Regions from separate parts of the Homo sapiens genome. Here region 1 is linked to region 2. Evidence: promoter capture Hi-C in 16 types of primary human blood cells and fetal thymus (Javierre and others, 2016). All regions are on one chromosome and are shown on one strand. The core of a region is centred on a gene start or on the middle of the fragment in contact, and the rest is flanking DNA. Distances in the headings are between cores, read along the strand shown.

Evidence for each region. The method cuts DNA at HindIII sites, captures the fragments that hold promoters and counts their contacts. A CHiCAGO score of 5 or more calls a contact.
Region 1: a fragment that was not itself captured here is called in contact with the fragment with the promoter of CCDC154 in region 2 in 1 of 17 cell types (endothelial precursors); the score reaches 5.9 in endothelial precursors.

What each region holds. Positions count from the first base shown.
Region 1 is chr16:1,698,998-1,702,424 of GRCh38, forward strand. It overlaps JPT2 (Jupiter microtubule associated homolog 2), which reads left to right. Exons shown (of 5, transcript NM_144570.3): 5 at 1-3,089. The coding sequence ends at 1. Among named protein-coding and RNA genes, the nearest start is that of MAPK8IP3, 5.5 kb to the right of the region's middle. The HindIII fragment of the contact is 1,383 bases long and covers 1,175-2,557 here.
Region 2 is chr16:1,442,210-1,445,805 of GRCh38, forward strand. It overlaps CCDC154 (coiled-coil domain containing 154), which reads right to left and starts at 2,347. Exons shown (of 17, transcript NM_001143980.3): 1 at 2,107-2,347; 2 at 1,587-1,803; 3 at 1,297-1,486; 4 at 1,052-1,092; 5 at 671-766; 6 at 197-320. The coding sequence starts at 2,113. CLCN7 (chloride voltage-gated channel 7) reads right to left here. Exons shown (of 25, transcript NM_001287.6): 25 at 2,726-3,596. The HindIII fragment of the contact is 15,368 bases long and covers 1-3,596 here.

The DNA.
Region 1 (3,427 bases), core at 616-3,115, 260 kb after region 2:
AGAGAAGCCACTGCTCCACCCGGAGCCAGACCAGAAACTCAAGAGATAGGGTAGCCATGTTTTCATTTCCTTTTGCCCAAATGAGCGGGGTGGGAAGAGGGTTAGTCTTATGTGAGCCTGGCTGCTCAGCGTCTCCTGGCCGTCATGACAGCTGCTTGGAGACCCGTGCCTTCCAGATGGCTGGGAGATGCCTCTGTGGGGATGAAATGGGGCACCCCTGGCCATCACTCATGTGTAGTCCAGGTTTGAGAGGAACTGGAAGGGGGGTGAGGGTGGGGAGGTGGGGCAGGGCATGGTCCTTGGATCAACAGCCCGCCAGCTGATTGGATGTCTAGGAATGACTGAAAGAAACCAAAACAGCCTGTCCACTGCTGCTGTGGGATGGAGGAGGCGTAAGCAGAAACACTAACAGTATATTGACCTCTTAGCAGAACCGCTTCCATTCTGGAGATCACGGCTGCTAAATCCAGCATCCCCACTTCATTTTACCCCCAGCATATTGTTCTGTAGTCTTTTCTTGAAACATCTTGATTGCTTTTCCTCGGCAGCTTTCAAAAAACCAAATAATAATAGTTATCCGTCTTCTACTTCATGGAAGATTGTTTTGGTGCCCTGACCCTCTGAAGTGCCCAGTTCCTGCCATCTGAAACCTCGGCCTGATCTGATCTCATGTTGGAATCTGCCTGTCTTTCACACAGGGCTGGTCTTGGTCCTTTACATGCCAGTTTTGCTTGTGAATTCTTGCTTTTTTCCTCTCATCAGCCTTAAGTTTAGGCGTTTGTTGTTCTCCAGTGATGTAGACAGTTCCCTTCACAAGTCACAGTTCTTCCCATAAATGAGGCCCGCTGACCTCTGCGGGACTTTAAAAATCTATTCAGATATTTCCGAGTAAGTGGCTTGTTTAAATTCTTCCTGTGTCTTTCTTTATTCCTTAATTGGTTGGTGGAAAGAAGAGATGCTTGGGAACCTTGGGTTCTTAGGTTTGGATTCTTTAATAATATCTAAAAAGCTAAATTTTAAATACCAGCTTTACATAAATGATTGTTGACTCTGGTCTGTTTCTGACACCTTTCCAGAAAAAAGTCAATTGTTCAGGTACACCAAAGAGGAAGAAGAGCTGTGGAGGCCACCCTCTACAAAGCTTTATAGAACTTCTGGATCTAACTCACAAACAAGCTTCCAGAAGAGACTAGAGACCTTAGGCCAGGAGATGAAGGAGTTCAGTAGCAAAGTCACACCTGTCCAATTCCCTGAGCTTTGCTCACTCAGCTAATGGGATGGCAAAGGTGGTGGTGCTTTCATCTTCAGGCAGAAGCCTCTGCCCATCCCCCTCAAGGGCTGCAGGCCCAGTTCTCATGCTGCCCTTGGGTGGGCATCTGTTAACAGAGGAGAACGTCTGGGTGGCGGCAGCAGCTTTGCTCTGAGTGCCTACAAAGCTAATGCTTGGTGCTAGAAACATCATCATTATTAAACTTCAGAAAAGCAGCAGCCATGTTCAGTCAGGCTCATGCTGCCTCACTGCTTAAGTGCCTGCAGGAGCCGCCTGCCAAGCTCCCCTTCCTACACCTGGCACACTGGGGTCTGCACAAGGCTTTGTCAACCAAAGACAGCTTCCCCCTTTTGATTGCCTGTAGACTTTGGAGCCAAGAAACACTCTGTGTGACTCTACACACACTTCAGGTGGTTTGTGCTTCAAAGTCATTGATGCAACTTGAAAGGAAACAGTTTAATGGTGGAAATGAACTACCATTTATAACTTCTGTTTTTTTATTGAGAAAATGATTCACGAATTCCAAATCAGATTGCCAGGAAGAAATAGGACGTGACGGTACTGGGCCCTGTGATTCTCCCAGCCCTTGCAGTCCGCTAGGTGAGAGGAAAAGCTCTTTACTTCCGCCCCTGGCAGGGACTTCTGGGTTATGGGAGAAACCAGAGATGGGAATGAGGAAAATATGAACTACAGCAGAAGCCCCTGGGCAGCTGTGATGGAGCCCCTGACATTACTCTTCTTGCATCTGTCCTGCCTTCTTTCCCTCTGCGAGGCAGTGGGGTGGGATTCAGAGTGCTTAGTCTGCTCACTGGGAGAAGAAGAGTTCCTGCGCATGCAAGCCCTGCTGTGTGGCTGTCGTTTACATTTGGGAGGTGTCCTGTATGTCTGTACGTTGGGGACTGCCTGTATTTGGAAGATTTAAAAACCTAGCATCCTGTTCTCACCCTCTAAGCTGCATTGAGAAATGACTCGTCTCTGTATTTGTATTAAGCCTTAACACTTTTCTTAAGTGCATTCGGTGCCAACATTTTTTAGAGCTGTACCAAAACAAAAAGCCTGTACTCACATCACAATGTCATTTTGATAGGAGCGTTTTGTTATTTTTACAAGGCAGAATGGGGTGTAACAGTTGAATTAAACTTAGCAATCACGTGCTCAGAGCTTTTGCCTGTCAGTTGTGTGTGTCCCTTATAGTCCCTTCCCCCACAGCTCTTGCTGAAAGAGTTTGCCTTGTTTTGTTTTGTTGTTTTGTATTTAGCCAGAGGATGCCAAAATTAGTCTTCTCAAAGCTTTGAGTAGAGTAAGTGTGGGAATAAGCCAGTTTTTTTTTTTCTGTTTCTGTAACTTAAATGAACGGGTTTTTTTCCCTTGTATGCCACTTGTCCTAACATGTCCTTAAGGTGTTTAACCTGCCTCTGACCTGGCTTGCAATGCATAGGTGAGGAGAAGCAGAGAGCTTGTCATATGCAAGTCCTGTCAAGAAAACAGGTGGGCATGGTGGCTCAGGTCTGTAGTCTTTGGGTCTTTGGGAGGCCAGGGTGGGAGGATCACTTGAGCTCAGGAGTTTGAGACCAGCCTAGACAACATACTACGACCCTGTCTATACAAAAAAAAACTTCTCTAAATTAGCCGGATGTGGTGGTGCATGCCTGTAGTCCCAGCTACTCGGGAGGCTGAGTGAGGCAGGAGGATCACTTGAGACCAGGAGGTTGTGGCTGTAGTGAGTGATGATCATGCCACTGCACTTCAGCCTGGACCACAGAGCAAGACCCTGTGTAAAAAAATAAAATAAAAAACAGATTGGATGTCTTTCTTCTGATGTATTAGCTATTTTCATATGTTTTCTAACATACTTAATATCCTTACAGGCATTATGTGGATTCAGGGTAAACTTCTCAGACTGTGAGCCTGAGAGTTCCTCTCTAGGAGGCTCCACACCATTCTGCCTGCTAGATCGGGGCCAGATGAGATGAAAGTCAACGCTTGAGAAAGAAAACCAACATGCATTAACTGAAACACCGTCTTCACTTGTTCATCCACAGGGTATAGAGCGAGTTCCAAGAACCAGGCTAGGAAATGACACGCTAAGTTTCCTATTTCTAGCAGCTGCCAAGGCCACCAGCAAGCATGGGAACCTCTGGGAGTCACAGCTCCTCC
Region 2 (3,596 bases), core at 1,097-3,596:
CCAAACAACCTGAACTTTTGAAATGGGGCATGTGCGGCTGAGGAATTGAGTTTTACATTGTCTACAACTATAGCTGATTTCAGTGGACACAGATACATGGTGAACGGCCGCTGTATCGGATGGCACAGGCCGAGAGGGTTAGGGTCTCCTCCTCGGCCCTCTGGGCGGCCCCCCTGAAGCCTGGGCCTGGTGGTACCTGCATTCTGGCCACCTCCAGGTCCACCCTCCGGCTGCTGTCCTCTTGGTTCTTCTGCAGGGCGCCGCAGGCCACCTCCCGGCCCTGCTCCTCCTGCTGCAGCAAGTCGGTCAGCTTGGCCAGTCTAGAGAAGTCGGCTGTGGTCACACCAGCCCAGCTGGCCGGAGGGCCCAGCAGGGTGAGGCTGACCCACAGGCTGGCCAGGCAGGAGGTGTACGACCCCCGCCCCCTGCCCCACCAGAAAACAGAGGAATGGGAAACACAGCACCGGTGGCAGGGAAGGGCTGCTGCGAGTCTCTTCCCCACAGAGGGTCCGCAGCGGGCCCAGGCTTCCCAGCACGCTTGGCACCGAGGGCGGTGCCCCGCCGGGTTACTGGGGACACACGGCAGGGGGACCCGTGTCTTGGCTCAGCCAGGGACTCTCAAATGACCCCACGCAAGCTCCGGAGCCAGCCACGGGCGGTGGGCGCCCACCTGAGGCCGGCCTCTTGCTCGGCGCCCCTTCTCTCCGCCTCCTGTTGCACCTGCCTCCTCCTGAGCCGGGTCAAGGCTTCCCGGACCTCCACCAGCCTGGGACACAACAAGCCATTCCCGAGAGGCCCAGGCGGGCTGAGCAGCCTCGGCGGGCTGGGGGTCTGGCCAAGGGGCCCCTGTGGCCACCTCCCATGGCTTTCCTGGGCCTCTGAAGGCCGCCCAGGCACGTACAAACCCGGCCTTTTCTAGCTGGACCTGGATGTGTATCCCCCACTCCAGCGACACCCAGCGGGAGATGTGGACCCCCCACCACACCTGCCGCTGCTTTCTCGCCACCACCTCCCCGCCCTGGGCCTGTGCCCCTAGGTGTGTGGGGGGTACCTTTTGTCCAGGGCCTGCATCTGGTTCTGGAGACCAGAGAACTGCGAGGAGGAAGAGGAGGCTGTGGGCTGGACCTAGGCCCGGGTCTGGCACCTGCCCCTGGAGTCCACCCAGCTCCGGCACCACTGGCCCCTGGGAGCTCTGGGCCTGGGCAGCAGGGGTGAGCTGGGCTCCAGGCCCAGAAGCAGCTGCCCCCAACACCCAGGAAAGGGGCAGCTCGACCTGTGGGTGGGGGAGCCGCTCACCTCCGGCGCCTCCTTTTCGGGGGCCTGGGCTGCCGGCCGCGCCTCCTGCTGCAACTGCCTCAGCTCTGAGCCCTGCAGCTGCACGCGGGCCCGCACCTGGAGCAGCTCCCGCAGCAGGCTCCGCGTGGCGCGCTCACAGCGCTGCTTGTGCTCCCGCAGGCAGGCCACCTCGGCCTGCAGCTCCACCACCCTGGCCGGGGCGAGAGTGGGCGAGTCTGGCGGTGCCCGCCGTGGAGGCGGAGGCGGCGGCGACGTGGTCCTCCCCCGCCAGCACCCCCTGCAGGGCTCACCACTGCTCCAGCTGGTTCCAGTGCTTGGCGGTGTCCTGCTCGGGGACAGAGGCCGTGGATGTCGGATGGCTGGACTCATACCTCTCCGAGAGCTCCTCCAGGCTCAAGGGCTCGGGGCTGGCCAGGCCTCCTGCCAGGAGGAGCCCCAGGTCTTCCAGGGTGACGGCTCTCAGCTGGGAAGGGGCCGATGCCCCTGAGGGTCCACTGTCAGCCAACTCTACAAGGAGGCATCTTGGGAGCTTGCCCCTTGGGGCCCGGCCCCCACTGGAGCTTACGGGAACAAGGCCCCAAACCCCCGCAGGACCCTCGCCCACCACCCAGAGCTCAACGCGTCTCCTTGGGTCACACAGGATCCAGACGGGCTTGGCTCAGACAAGTCCAGGGCCCTGCCTGAAGACACACAGCACTGGGCGGCAGGAACAAGCGAGCTGGAGGGAGCCCGGGGTCAGAAGCAGAGCGGTCCCCACCCTCACACCTGTGGCAAGCCCCTCCCTGGGCCCCGCTCCTCCGCTCTGGTCACCTGACATGGCTGCTGGGCTGCACCGGCCACCCTGCCCTCGGCTGTAGCTTGGGCCTTGGGGCCTCTGAGGTTGCCCAGAGCTGGGCACAGGCCAGGGGGGTCAGGAGCCAGAGGAAGTCCCGTGAGAGCTCTGGGCCTTGAGGGACGAGCTGCTGCCCTCGTCTGGCTGCCTTCTCAGGGTCCCCAGGGAGGCAGGTGTGGGGCAGCGGGGCCGTTCCAGAACCTTCCTTCTCTCCCCAGAACCTCACGGCTTCACAGCCCAACTGCCAATGGAACTCTAGCCCTCAGCTCTCCCACTCCCGCAGGGCCCCCCAACTGCCTGCTTCTGGATGGATCTGAGGGGCCCCACTCCCGAGAGGGCGCAGACACGTGTCCTCTGGCAAAGGGGACTTCTTCAGCTGCCGAGGGAGGGGAAGGAGGCCCTGACGAGGCCTGGGCACGCCGGGAGGGACGCTGGGAGCAGGGAGGCCGAGAGCCCCAGGACACCCCGGACACAGCCAGGCCCACGTCCGAGCGGAGCCCGAGGCCTGGGCAGCGCCATCGGGGTGAGGGGCACAGCCGGGCTCCACGGGAACCCATCTTGCTCAGCAGCCCCATTAAAAGGCAAGAAGCAGCGATGTGAATCCTAACCGCTGATTTTATTTAACCGAATATATCCAAAATATGATCACTTCCAGGTCCTCAGTACACAACCACCACGAGGGAAACCCAGACCTAGGTTTCCGGCGCCGACTCTGAGGCCCGGGAGTTTTCTTCTTGCGTCACCCCAGCGTGGGCACCCCGGCCCGCCCCCCTCCACCTGGAGCGCCTCTGCCTTGCCCCCAGACCCACCAGCCAGGAGCCAGAGGAGGGAGGCTGAGGGGCGGGGACGAGGAAGAGGATGTGGCTGGTGCCCTGGGTGGCCGCAGCCGCTGTCTTTCACGCCTTTCTCACTCCACACGGTGCCCCGACCCCAGGGTCCCGAAAGTCCCAGGCTGTTGGACGTGGTCTGGGTGGGGTGGGAGGGACGACGCTGGCAAAGGCGGGCTGAGAGGATTTCTTTATTTCGCGTTCAGACCCAACACACTCGGACACCTTGGGGCCCTGTGAGGGCTAAGCAGGGTGGTGGCGTCAGCTCCCGGGGAGGCCCCACTCCCTGGGGAGGAAATACACGGCAGGGGGCCGCACCCAGCCCCCCACGGAGGGACCCGTGTTGCTCTAACAGGGACACTGAAGTTGCCTCTGCCGCCCCGTGAGGGGCCTGTGGCGGCCCCAGACCCAGCCCAGCCAGGCCAGAGGAGCCTCCCAGGGGCCCTCAGGTGGTGAGGTGGGGGCTTCCCGGCCCCGGTGCCCACCGGCCCTTCTAGCTGCCTGTGCTGGGCCAGGTGTCCTCTGAGGCCGGCAGGAGTCTGGCCCCCGCTGCACCTGCGCTTGGTGGCTGGCAGGGGCGGGGTAGGGAGGTCACCCTCGAGGCCGGGGTCCCCATGTGCTAGGGGAAGACCTGCCTTCCC